3 separate regions of the Homo sapiens genome follow, and all the other regions are linked to region 3. Evidence: promoter capture Hi-C in human tissues and cell types (Jung and others, 2019). All regions are on one chromosome and are shown on one strand. Each heading gives the region's core, a stretch centred on a gene start or on the middle of the fragment in contact. The rest is flanking DNA. Distances are from core to core; before and after follow the strand shown.

Region 1 (3,912 bases), core at 1-2,500, 190 kb before region 3:
CGGCCAAAGCTCGTGACCCGGAAGTCAGACCTGCGGCTGCTGCAGAGGACAGAGGTGAACAGCAAACGGGATGAACACTCACTGTGTGCTCCATGACAGCCACCCCGGCCCCCACAGCCTCACACCACAGGATGGGACCAGTATGATCCTGAGAGGCTCCCAGAGATGTCCAGCCTTGACCAAGACCGTCTGTCCACCCAGCCTCACAGAAACCTGGCAGGGAGCAAAGCCCTCCAAACCACTTTGCAGAGCTACCCTAAAGGCAGGGACAAAGGCGGGGCGCGGAGGCTCACGCCCGTGATCCCAGTACTTAGGGAGGCTGAGGCAGGAGGGTTGCTGGAGGCCAGTTCAAGGATGCAGTGAGCTATGATTGCACCACTGCACTGCAGCCTGGGCGACAGAATGAAACCCTATCTCTTAAAAAAAAAAAATGACAGGGACCGAAACAGATGTGACTTCAGGCTGACAATGTTTGAGGATCGGAGAAAGAAGAATCAGGCTGCGGGGGGCTTCGCTGAGGACAAGGGCAAAGGGTGGGAAGCAAGACAAAGCAAAAGCTCTCAAACGGCCCCAATGGCTGAGGCAATACCCTGAACCGCAGGTCCTCAGGCCTGTGCCCGGCTTCCAAACCGGACTCGACCCAGTGGCCTCCATCTGCCCCAGACCCCAAGGCACGGGTTCCGAGCTCCACGTCCCCATCGAAAGCCCCAGCTCGCCCGCTGCTTCCCAACCACCAACTCTGCCAGCCTCGGATGCTGAAGACTCCATGGGGTTCAGGACGCAAGGACAAATAGCGACGCTGAATCACAGAGAAGGGCAGAGTCTGGGGGCGCCCCCCGTCCCCATTCGCGGCTTCCTCCTCCTCTCGCCGCCACGCGCGCCGCACCAGCCCAAGCCGCCCACCCACCCCTAAGCACCGCACCCAGACGTCTCGAAACCCCCTCCCTTCCCCGCTGCCGGCTCAGGTCGGGTCCAGCGCCTGGTATCCCCGGCGACCTCTGGGCCTCCCGTATCGGCCCGGCCCTTCATCGCTGCTGCTCCGACGAGAGTACGAGGAGACGCCGTGCTCGACCCCACCTCGGGCCCCTACACCCGCCGCCCGCGCCCCCGCCCCCAACACCAGGCGCGGCTCACCTGCATGATGGTCTTGCGGATTTTCCAGAGCCGGTACGTCTCCTCCTCGTCGTCCATGGCAGCCTCCGCCGCCGCCGCCGCTCGCACCCCTTCTCCGCGCGAGAACCCGCGCGGACTGCGCCTGCGCCGAATCCGAATCAGGCCCCCTCCGCCTAACCCCGCCCCGCGCTGGTCTGTCGTCGGCGAATGCCTGAATGCAGCAACGTCTCGGATCGGCAGCGCCAAGGGCAGCCCGAGCCTTACGAGAGCGGCAGTTGGCTGAGCGAGTCTCTCGCCTCCGTAGTTCTCGTGTGTCTTTGGCCGCACAGCCTCTCGGGAGTTGTAGTTTCCGTTCAACTCCCACCTTGGAGCAACAGTTTAGAATCCCACGAGGCGGGGGCGAAGTGTGAGCGGGGAAACTGAGGCCTGGATGGGGTCAAGGGGCAGCTCGGCTCCTAGGGATGGTCTGGGAGCCTAGTGGGAACTCTATAAATATTTGTGCATCAAACTGTACAGGGTTTCCTCCATTGGCTCCTGGCCAGGTCAGGGTTAATTCCCTTGGGCCTCAGTTTCCCTACCTGTGCAATGGCAATAAAGTGTCCCTACTTTAGACGGTTAACTGAGAGTCTTAGGCATCTCTCTAGGTGCTTATTAAGTCCCCTCACCTCTGTCCTCTCCCCTGAGCGCCACCAGCCTAGCCTGGGTATCTCCCCAGCCTAGCCTGGGTATCTCCCCACCCCAGACTCTTCCTGTCTTTGCAAACCTCCTCACTTCCCCAGGTTCACGGAGAACCCCAGCCCAACACTTCCTGTGTGCAGGCTATCAGTAACTTATTCAGTGATGCATTCGTTAATTCAACATTTACTCAGCAACCTACAGTGATGGTGAATAAAACAGGCCAAGTATCCCTTGCATTCAGATAAAGACAGGATTTAGTAAAATATAATAAATAACGTGGCCGGGCGCGGTGGCTCATGCCTATAATCCCAGCACTTTGGGAGGCTGAGGCGGGCAGAGCATGAGATCAGGAGTTCAAGACCATCCTGGCTAACACGGTGAAACCCCGTCTCTACTAAAAATACAAAAAATTAGCTGGGCCAGGTGGCAGGTGCCTGTAGTCTCAGCTACTTAGGAGGCTAAGGCAGGAGAATCTCGTGAACCTGTAAGGTGGAGGTTTCAGTGAGCCAAGATCGTGCCACTGCACTCCAGCCTGGACAACAGAGCAAGACTCTGTCTCAAAAATAAAATGAAATGAAATAAAATAAAATAAATAACAACGTTAGAAAGTGACAAAGCTACGGAAGAAGAAAGAGCAGGGAGGCTAAGTGACATGGGGAGAATGGGAGAACTGCAGTATCACATGGGGAGGTCAGGGAATACAGTGAGGATAGATTCAAGCAAAAATCCCATTAGCAGTGGTGGCTCATCACTGTAATCCCAGCACTTTGGGTGGCCGAGGCAGGCAGAGCATGAGATCAGGAGTTCCAGACCAGCTTGGCCAACATGGTGAAACCCTGTCTCTACTAAAAATACAAAAATTAGCCAGGTTTGGTGGTGGGTGCCTGTACTCCCAGTTACTCGGGAGGCTGAGGCAGGAGAATCACTTGAACCCGGGAGGCGGAGGTTGCAGTGAGCCGAGATCGCACCACTGCACTCCAGCCTGGGTGACAGAGCAAGACTCCATCGAGAAAAAAAAAAAAAAATCCCATTGGGCGCGATAGCTCACACCTGTAATCCCAGCACTTTGGGAAGCTGAGAGGGGAGGATCCCTTTGTTGTAGTTTTGTAATTTTTAGTTGTAAGTCACGGACTTTTTTACACTGATATTTGAGATTCTTTTTGGGGGGCTGTCAGGGGCTACTTTTTTTTTTTTTCCTGACACGGAATCTCGCTCTGTCCCCCAGGCTGGAGTGCAGTGGCAGGATCTCGGCTCACTGCAAGCTCCACCTCCCGGGTTCACGCCATTCTTCTGCCTCAGCCTCCCGAGTAGCTGGGACTACAGGCACCTGCCACCACGCCCGGCTAATTTTTTGTATTTTTAGTAGAGACGGGGTTTCACCGTGTTAGCCAGGATGGTCTCCATCTCCTGCCCTCATGATCCGCCCGCCTCGGCCTCCCAAAGTGCTGGGATTACAGGTGTGAGCCACCCCGCCCGGTCTGTGCAGGCTTTCTTATCTAACTACCTAACTTTTCTTTCTCACCTTGAGGCCAGGAGTTTGAGACAAGCCTAGGCAACATAGGAAGACCCCATTTCTTTTTTGTTGTTGTTGTTGTTTTTTGAGACCGAGTCTCGCTCTGTTGCCCAGGCTGGAGTACAGTGGCATAATCTCAGCTCACTGCAGCCTCCGCCTCCTGGGTTTAAAGGATTCTCCTGCCTTGGCCTCCCGAGTAGCTGGGATTACAGGCGTGAGCCACCACACCTGGCTAATTTTTTTGTATTTTTGGTAGAGATGGGGTTTCACCATGTTAGCCAGGCTGGTCTTGAACTTCTGACCTCAGATCATCTGCTTGCCTCGGCCTTCCGAAGTGCTGAGATTACAGGCGTGAGCCACCGCACCCGGCCAGGAAGACCCCATTTCTACAAAAAAATTTAAAAATTAGCTGGGCGTGGTGGGCGCACCTGTAGTCCCAGTTACTCGGGAGGCTGAGGTGGGAAGATCTAGGATCGCCTGAGCCCAGCGGTTGAGGCTGCAGTGAGCTGTGATTGCGCCACTGCACTCTAGCCTGGGCGACAGAGCAAGACACTGTCTCCAAACAAACAGAAAACAAACAAAAACCAGAAGAGGAGAGGGAGGAAACC
Region 2 (3,789 bases), core at 529-3,028, 130 kb after region 3:
TGTCTCAGACATGCCCAGTGGGTGCCATGGCTGACTCAAGGTGGCACAGTCCCCATTGGGAGTTGGCACAGTCCCCATTGGGAGTTGGCACAGCCAAGGCCCTGGGGCCACCTGGAGCGGCAGTGAGGTGGAAAGGTGAGTGGGCCCTTGGGCGTCGCTGCAGGGTCGATGGCGGACGCCTTGGGAGAGCTCCAGCTCTTCTGCCCGGAGGAGACAGCCCCAGGACGGGGGTGGCGCGGGTCTTTGGTGGGGGCAGGCAGGAAGTGCCAGTGCTGAGACTGAATTTCAGGCCCTTCTCATCTGCCAATAAGAGACAGCCCCAGAATGGGGGTGGCGCGGGTTTGTCGGGGGTAAGTAAGTGGGGCCAGTGCTGAGACTGGAGCTTCAGGGCCTTCACCTTCATCTGTGGGCCTCTCGTTAGTTCGTGAGTGCAGGCTCATTGGGAGGCTTCTGTCTGTGTCCCCCCACCCCCGCCCCAGGCTGTAATTCAGAGGCCGTGTGGCATAGGCTTCTAGTTTACTGTGCATCATTTCAGATGTAGACTTCTACATTCTTTTTCCTGATTATAAAATACTCGCAAAAGCTGTAGGAAAGCGAGCCTGTGTCCCACTTGGCAGCAGTGCAGGTGAGCGTGGTGCCGTCACCACTGGCCTGTCCCAGGAACTCATCGCCCGCCACGCATGAGGTCAGCGTGCGGCTCTGTGGCACGGTCCTCTCCCCATGGCAAGGATTGGGATCATCTTTCATGTCTGCAGACAGCATGGGCGAGGCTGACTCGCCATTGCTGTGAGCTTTGTATGCCGTCACGTGCACAAGGACGTTTGCGTCAGCTGCTTCTGTGGTTTGAATTAAGACCTCAGCTTGGCTTGGATGGGGGCATTTCTAAGGCGAGCGCTGTCTTGATCCTGAATGTTTTCTCATTGAATCGCAGGAAGCTCTTCGTGGGCGGTCTTGACTGGAGCACGACCCAAGGTAGGTGGGGAAGGGGTGTCAGGTGGGTACTGCAGATGGGCTCTAGGACCTCGGCCTTCAAGTTGTGTCTGCCCGCCTCTTGCTACTGTCTTGGATATTTTAAAGTCCTTTTGACGTTGTTCTGATTTCTGGGCAGGGGACAGAGTAAGTGTGTATTTGCTCTGAGACTGTTAATTTGGTATTTCCATCCCAAGTTACAGGGAAGACCTCAGGCTGCAGGTTCCTAGCTCCGGGCTGAGGTGGCTTGTGGAGGCAGACAGCTGTTGTCTGGAAGTGCAGAGGGCTGGGGGCTGGCCAGGCTGTTACTGAGTTCAGAATAGGAGGAAAGAGTGTGTAGCAAAGTCGGCGCTCCTTGGCCACTGCCAGCATTCAGAGTTGTCTTGTTTGCCTTGCCTTAAACGTTGCCTTCCTGGACGCCTACAAAGTCAGGTTGTAACCGCTGGCCACTGCTGTGCTCACTGGCAGCCCCTGATTTACGTGAGGACCTCAAGTGTGTGTTGGGCAGAATTCCCCAGCGCTTCCCGTACACCCCCCACCCCCAGTGCAGCATCGCTCGGTGCGTGGCTGGTGGACTGGAGGAGTGTGCGTGCCGGCAGCACTGCCAGGCACGTGCCTAATGCTCTGGCCCTGTGTGTTTGTGTTTTCTTCCCGATTTCTGAGCAGAGACTCTGCGCAGCTACTTTTCCCAATATGGAGAAGTCGTAGATTGTGTTATCATGAAAGATAAAACCACCAACCAGTCTCGAGGCTTTGGGTTTGTCAAATTTAAAGACCCAAACTGTGTGGGGACGGTGCTGGCCAGCAGACCGCACACGCTAGATGGCCGAAACGTAAGTGCCCTTCCGGGAGCTCACACCCGCTCTCTGTCTCCCCTGTCCTTCCTCTGCTTCATTTTTTCCTGGACTCTGACCGATGTTTGCGTTAGAGTATGTTTGAACGTGGGGTCGATTGGGAAGGATTAAGCCTTGGTGCTGAGGCTGGATATTGCAGGAGGATACAGGGTGAATGGAGCCGGCGGGGCGGGGCGGGCCGGGCTGCTGTGCCGTGGCTGCTGTTGTGCTGACACCCTCTTTCCTAGAGAAACAGCCTCTTATTCACAACCAGCTGATTTGAAATTTCCTGCAGATCGACCCCAAGCCATGCACACCCCGGGGGATGCAGCCGGAGAGAACACGGCCGAAGGAAGGATGGGTAAGGGGCTGGGCCGGGCGGCCTCCTTGTGTGTTCTCCACTCCACGTGGAAAGGAAATGCGTGCCTTCAATCTGCTGTTGTCGCTCGTTAAGATTGAGGGCGACGCAGGTCTTCTGGGTTGGCACTCGAGCAGCTGAGGATCACCCAGATTTATCAGTGCCGTGAGTGTTTTACAGCCAAGAAAATTCTTACTAATCTATCTTAGGGAAAAAAAAAATGACAGCTCATGCCACTGATTATCAGGAGCCAGTCAGCTTCCCTCTGTGCCCTGTGTGCCCTCTGTGCCGGGCCTGCCCCCTCCCACTGCCTGGCCCTCCTCAGAGGTGGGCCATCCTTCCACTGCCGGGGCTGGGCCGGGCTGTGTCAGCTCGTGCTGGCCACTTTACTGCTCCACTTGAGATCCCCTGACGTGGCAACTTGGGTTCTCTGACCTGCGCCCTGGTGCTTGCCTGGCCGACAGGGCACTGTCCTGGCATGGGGTCTCCTTGGCATTTGGGTCTCACCACCACCCACACCTCACCTTCCTCCAGCCCTGCAGTTCTCACACCGGCACCAGGAGCCTGGTGGGGCGGTGCAGATGGGAAAGCTCTTAGCCCCATAGAACGTGCTGGACAGTGCAGACCTGGAGGCCTGCTGAGGCACCGGGTGCCAGCCTCTCCACAGTGTGGGCAGCAGGGTGGGGTCTATATGTATTTACATCCATCTCTGTCCACATACACCATTCCTAAGGACCGGAGGGTGCGTCTCCTAAAATGACGGCCACCCCTCGCATGCACCCACCGTCAGCACGCTGGAAAGCGGCTGCAGGGAATCCCGTGTCATCTGTGTCCAGGCCGTGTTCCCAGCTCCAGAATTGTTTCACAAGTGTCTCTCATAGCTGGTTTTTTTCAGACTGGAATCCAAGGTTCATATTCCATCTGGTTATTAATGTCTCTCTAGCTTTTCTTAAGATATAATGGGCACGTAGTAAACTGCACCACTTGATGATTCTGACCCATACAAACACTCATGAAACCATCCCGACCGTCACGGCAGCGAGCACTCACCCCACGCACACACTCATGAAACCATCCCAACCGTCACGGCAGCGAGCACTCACCCCACGCACACACTCGTGAAACCATCCCGACCGTCACGGCAGCGAGCACTCACCCCACGCACACACTCATGAAACCATCCCGATCGTCAACGGCAGCGAGCACTCACCCCACGCGCACACTCATGAAACCATCCCTACAGTCACGGCGGCGAGCACTCACCCCACGCGCACACTCATGAAACCATCCCTACAGTCACGGCGGCGAGCACTCACCCCACGCGCACACTCATGAAACCATCCCTACAGTCACGGCAGCGAGCACTCACCCCACGCGCACACTCATGAAACCATCCCGAACGTCACGGCGGCGAGCACTCACCCCACGCGCACACTCATGAAACCACCCCGAACGTCACGGCGGCGAGCACTCACCCCACGCGCACACTCATGAAACCACCCCGAACGTCACGGCGGCGAGCACTCACCCCACGCGCACACTCATGAAACCACCCCGAACGTCACGGCGGCGAGCACTCACCCCACGCGCACACTCATGAAACCACCCCGAACGTCACGGCGGCGAGCA
Region 3 (3,639 bases), core at 413-2,912:
TACAGAGCCTTGTGTGGCTAGAACCCAAGGCCCTCACTCCAGGGGTGCTGAGAGAGCCTGTCCAGAGGGCCTGCCTCAGCCACCACCTGGGACAGGTTCACGCCCTCCACTGAAGAGACACCCGGCCAGCCCTGGGCCTTCGACCTGGGACGTCTGTAGTGGGGTCAGGGGATGAGACCTGGAGCTCAGAACAGACGGGCTGAGCTCCCTGGAGGAGAGAGAACTGAGAACCTTGTCCTGGCAGGGACGCTAGAGCACTGGGTGGGACAGACCTTTCTGGAAGAGCAAGATTTTAACAGGAAGAAAAAGTGGAAGGACTTCCCAGCAGGACCCAGCCTGAACAAAGGTCAGGTGGTGTGGCCCGCGTGGCCCGCTGGGGAATCGGGGGAGGAGGGCACGCAGGAGACACAGGACAGAGCCCACCACGTCTCAGAGCTGTGGGACGGTGGTGGGTCCGGTCCCCACCCCACCTTGCTGGGGCACAGGTTAGCTTGCCCATCTCTGGGTTCACGGTCCCTGCCAGGAGTTTGGGTAATGCCTCACACAGGGACCTTCGGGTCCAAGGGCTGTTGGTGCTTGCCCTGCAGTTCCCTCTCCTGCACTGGGCCTGGTGAATGACACTAATTCAGAGACGTACAACACGATCTGGGCATCGCCAGCAAAGTCCAGCCAGCGTTTGATGACAGCCTACCCTCCACAAGCTCAGAGTCTGGTGAGGGAGGCTGTGGCATGAATAAGGGCAAAAACAGAGGGCAGGCCAGGTGCAGTGGCTCACGCCTGTAATCCTAGCACTTTGGGAAGCCCAGGTGGGAAGATCGCCTGAGCCCAGGAGTTCAAGACCAGCGTGGCCAACATGGCCAGACACTGTCTCTATAGATTGGAAAAAAGACAAAGCAGAGGCCAGGCCCCCAGTTCCCCACCTGTGTCAGCCTACCAGGAGGAGAAATCACTCGGCGTTCCCTGAACAGATCAGACCCCGGGTCTTTGCACAAGCTGTGCCCCCGGGCAGCGGCCCTCCCCTGCCTGCAGGATTCGTGCGTGGAGACTGATTTGCTGTCGGCCGGGGCTTCACTCTGGGCTTCTTGGATCCCATCCCCAGCTGCTCACACTCCACATCGGTCCACCTACTATGCTCCCGGCACCCTTAGGGCTGAGGTGTAGGGACTTACTCCATCCCCAGGGAACAGCGTGGGTCCGGAGAGGCGACTCCCAGGAGGGCCCCAGGGAGGTCGCAGCCCGAGCAGCTTTGGACTTTGGCCAGCGCCCCTCTGAAACTCTGCCCCGGCCCCCGCAGGGAGACTGGAGTTGGCCGAGCCCGATTTGGGACGCGTGCGTCGGGGTTGGTGAGGCTGCGGATAGCGCTGGAACCGGGCAGGTGAGAGGCCCGGGACCCAGGGCCGGGCCGGGTGGAGCGCGTGGGGGCGCGGGAGGCAGGGTGCGCCCCCGCCCCTCGGAGACCCCAGGCCGGGCCACGCGGATGCCGGCGGGGGGCGCGCAGAATCGGGGTCGCTGGGGGCAGGCCCCGGGGGACGAGCCTGAGACGGGGTGGGCCGGGGCAGGGGGCGGGCGCAGGCTGGAGACCCCCGCCCAGTCCCCGCGCGGCCGGGGCACGGCGGGAGGGGGCGCCCGCGGCCCTCCCGACGCTCGGGCGGGACAAAGGCCGGAGCCCGGGCCCCTCCCCGGCGGGTGCGGCGGCGGCGGCCCGCGCTCCGACAGTCCGCGCGGCCGGGTCCTGCGCCCGGGGCGACCCCGGCGCCCCGCCCCGCCGCCGCCTGACTTCTCGGCGCCCGAGGTCGCGCGCGCGGAGGCGGGGGCGGCCCGGGATCTCCAAGCGCCGCCGCGCCCTCCTCCCGCCCGCCCTCCGCCCGCCCGCTCGGCGGCGGCGGCGGCGGCGGAGGAGGCGGAGAAGGCTGGCAGGCGGCGGCCGGGAGAGCGAGCGCGGCGGCCGGACCGGGGCCATGGCGCCCGCGCAGCGCCCGCTGCTCCCGCTGCTGCTCCTGCTGTTACCGCTGCCGCCGCCGCCCTTCGCGCGCGCCGAGGACGCCGCCCGCGCCAACTCGGACCGCTACGCCGTCTACTGGAACCGCAGCAACCCCAGGTGAGCGCGGCCGCGCGCGGGGGGCGCCCGGGGACCCCCCAACGCCCCCCAAGCCGCGCCCGGCCTCGCGCCCCCGGAGCTCCGGGCGCCCCCCACGCGCGCGCCGCCGCCGGGATGCGGGCGCCCGGTTCCCGCGGGAGCCCCCCAGGGAGCTCCGGCCCCCCGGAGTTTGGGGGACTCGCCCTTTTCGCGCCTGCCTTCCCCGGGGCGCCCCATTGCCCTACGGACTGTGGGGACTCGCGCCCCACATCCCCCAGAGCGCCGACGTCTCCTGGAGTTTGGGGAACCCCTCTGGTACCCTCCGATGCCGGGTAGCCCCTGAGTTGCCTGCCTGGACTTGGGGGGACCCCTGATCCACCCGCTTCTCTGGGGAGCCCCCTCGGTTTCGCATTTGGTGGGGATCCCCGGGGACCTTGGCACCGGAGGTGGGGGACTGTGGCCCTCGAGGGATCTCTGGGTTCGTCCTGCCCGCAGGTCCCCAGATGAACTTGGGGAAGTTGGAGTGTCCCTCCCTCAGGACCCAGCATCTGCTTCACTCCAGGGGGCCAAGGGCCCAGCTTTGAAAGGAGACTGAGGGGCCGGGGAGCTGGGGGTCAGCCCCGGGAGGGGCAGTGGGATGGAGTCCTCTCTTGTCCTCTGGGCGCTGACCAGGAAACTGAGGTGCAGAGGGGATGAGGAGCTGGCTCAAGGTCATGCAAGGGGGGGACTTGGGGGCAGGACCCAGGTGGCCCAGTGCCCTGCCTGCCACGCCCGGCCGAGATGCCGCACCCGCCTGCTGCAGGCCCCCTTGTTTTGAACCAGGTCCGGGCCAGGCACAACGTGGGGGACAGGAGAAGCCCCCGTTGGTCAGAGCAAAAAAAGTTTGCCGGGGCCTGGCCATGGCCTGGACGTGGGTAGAACCCTCTGAACCATCCCAGGGTCTCCAAGACAGGAGCAGGCTGCAGCTTCCCTGGGGGTCCCGTGGGAGCCGGGGCTTTGGGGGTCCTGGGGCTCGGGAGGGAGTCAGCCCCAGCACTCAGGGTGTCACCGTCTTCCTAAGGCACACGGAGCTGCACATCGGGGGCTGAGGCGGCCCCCCCCCACTCTTCTGCTACTGGTCACTTTCTCTCCGTTTTCCAGCCGCTTCCTGTGCCGACCGAGCCGCCCTCTGGAGCCCGCCACCCCTCCTTGTCCCCTCTGTCTCCTGCTGTCCTCGGTCCCCGGGAGGAAAGTTGCATGAAGGGGTCTCTTTGAGGCGGGCTCGGGGACAAGGGCGGCCCGTGTTCCGCCGTGGGGGTGGGGAACACGCACAGGCCCACCCCCCACCCTGGTCAACGGCCTCGGGTCGGGCCCTGGGGGCTGAGGGCAGGGACCCCGGGCCGCTGGGGGACGGCTGGCCCACCTCAGAGCGGGTCCCCGAGCCGCCCGCTGTGCTGGTCACATGTGGGTTTGATTAAGGCTGTCGCTGGCCGTGCGGGGAGTCCAGCGGGCAGCGCTTCCCCGGCCCAAGTTTTTGGTTTCAGCTGCGGAATCTCCCGTCCCCAGCGTGGCCTGTCCTTTGT

Evidence for each region. Contacts are between HindIII fragments. The study calls those that stand out against the background at their distance.
Region 1: a contact is called between the fragment with the promoter of POLR2E here and the fragment with the promoter of EFNA2 in region 3, in 2 of the 25 tissues and cell types used here (H1 embryonic stem cells and mesendoderm cells).
Region 2: a contact is called between a fragment that was not itself captured here and the fragment with the promoter of EFNA2 in region 3, in 3 of the 25 tissues and cell types used here (dorsolateral prefrontal cortex, heart left ventricle and lymphoblastoid cells).

Annotation. Positions count from the first base shown.
Region 1 is chr19:1,094,125-1,098,036 of GRCh38, forward strand. POLR2E (RNA polymerase II, I and III subunit E) reads right to left here and starts at 1,251. Exons shown (of 8, transcript NM_002695.5): 1 at 1,135-1,251. The coding sequence starts at 1,191. RefSeq lists enhancers at 1-437, 1,195-1,284. The HindIII fragment of the contact is 36,385 bases long and covers 1-3,912 here.
Region 2 is chr19:1,416,569-1,420,357 of GRCh38, forward strand. DAZAP1 (DAZ associated protein 1) reads left to right here. Exons shown (of 12, transcript NM_018959.4): 2 at 932-972; 3 at 1,636-1,802; 4 at 2,098-2,163. Among named protein-coding and RNA genes, the nearest start is that of DAZAP1, 11 kb to the left of the region's middle. RefSeq lists an enhancer at 1-554. The HindIII fragment of the contact is 6,564 bases long and covers 1-3,789 here.
Region 3 is chr19:1,284,211-1,287,849 of GRCh38, forward strand. It overlaps EFNA2 (ephrin A2), which reads left to right and starts at 1,663. Exons shown (of 4, transcript NM_001405.4): 1 at 1,663-2,098. The coding sequence starts at 1,959. RefSeq lists enhancers at 747-1,247, 1,248-1,748. The HindIII fragment of the contact is 32,397 bases long and covers 1-3,639 here.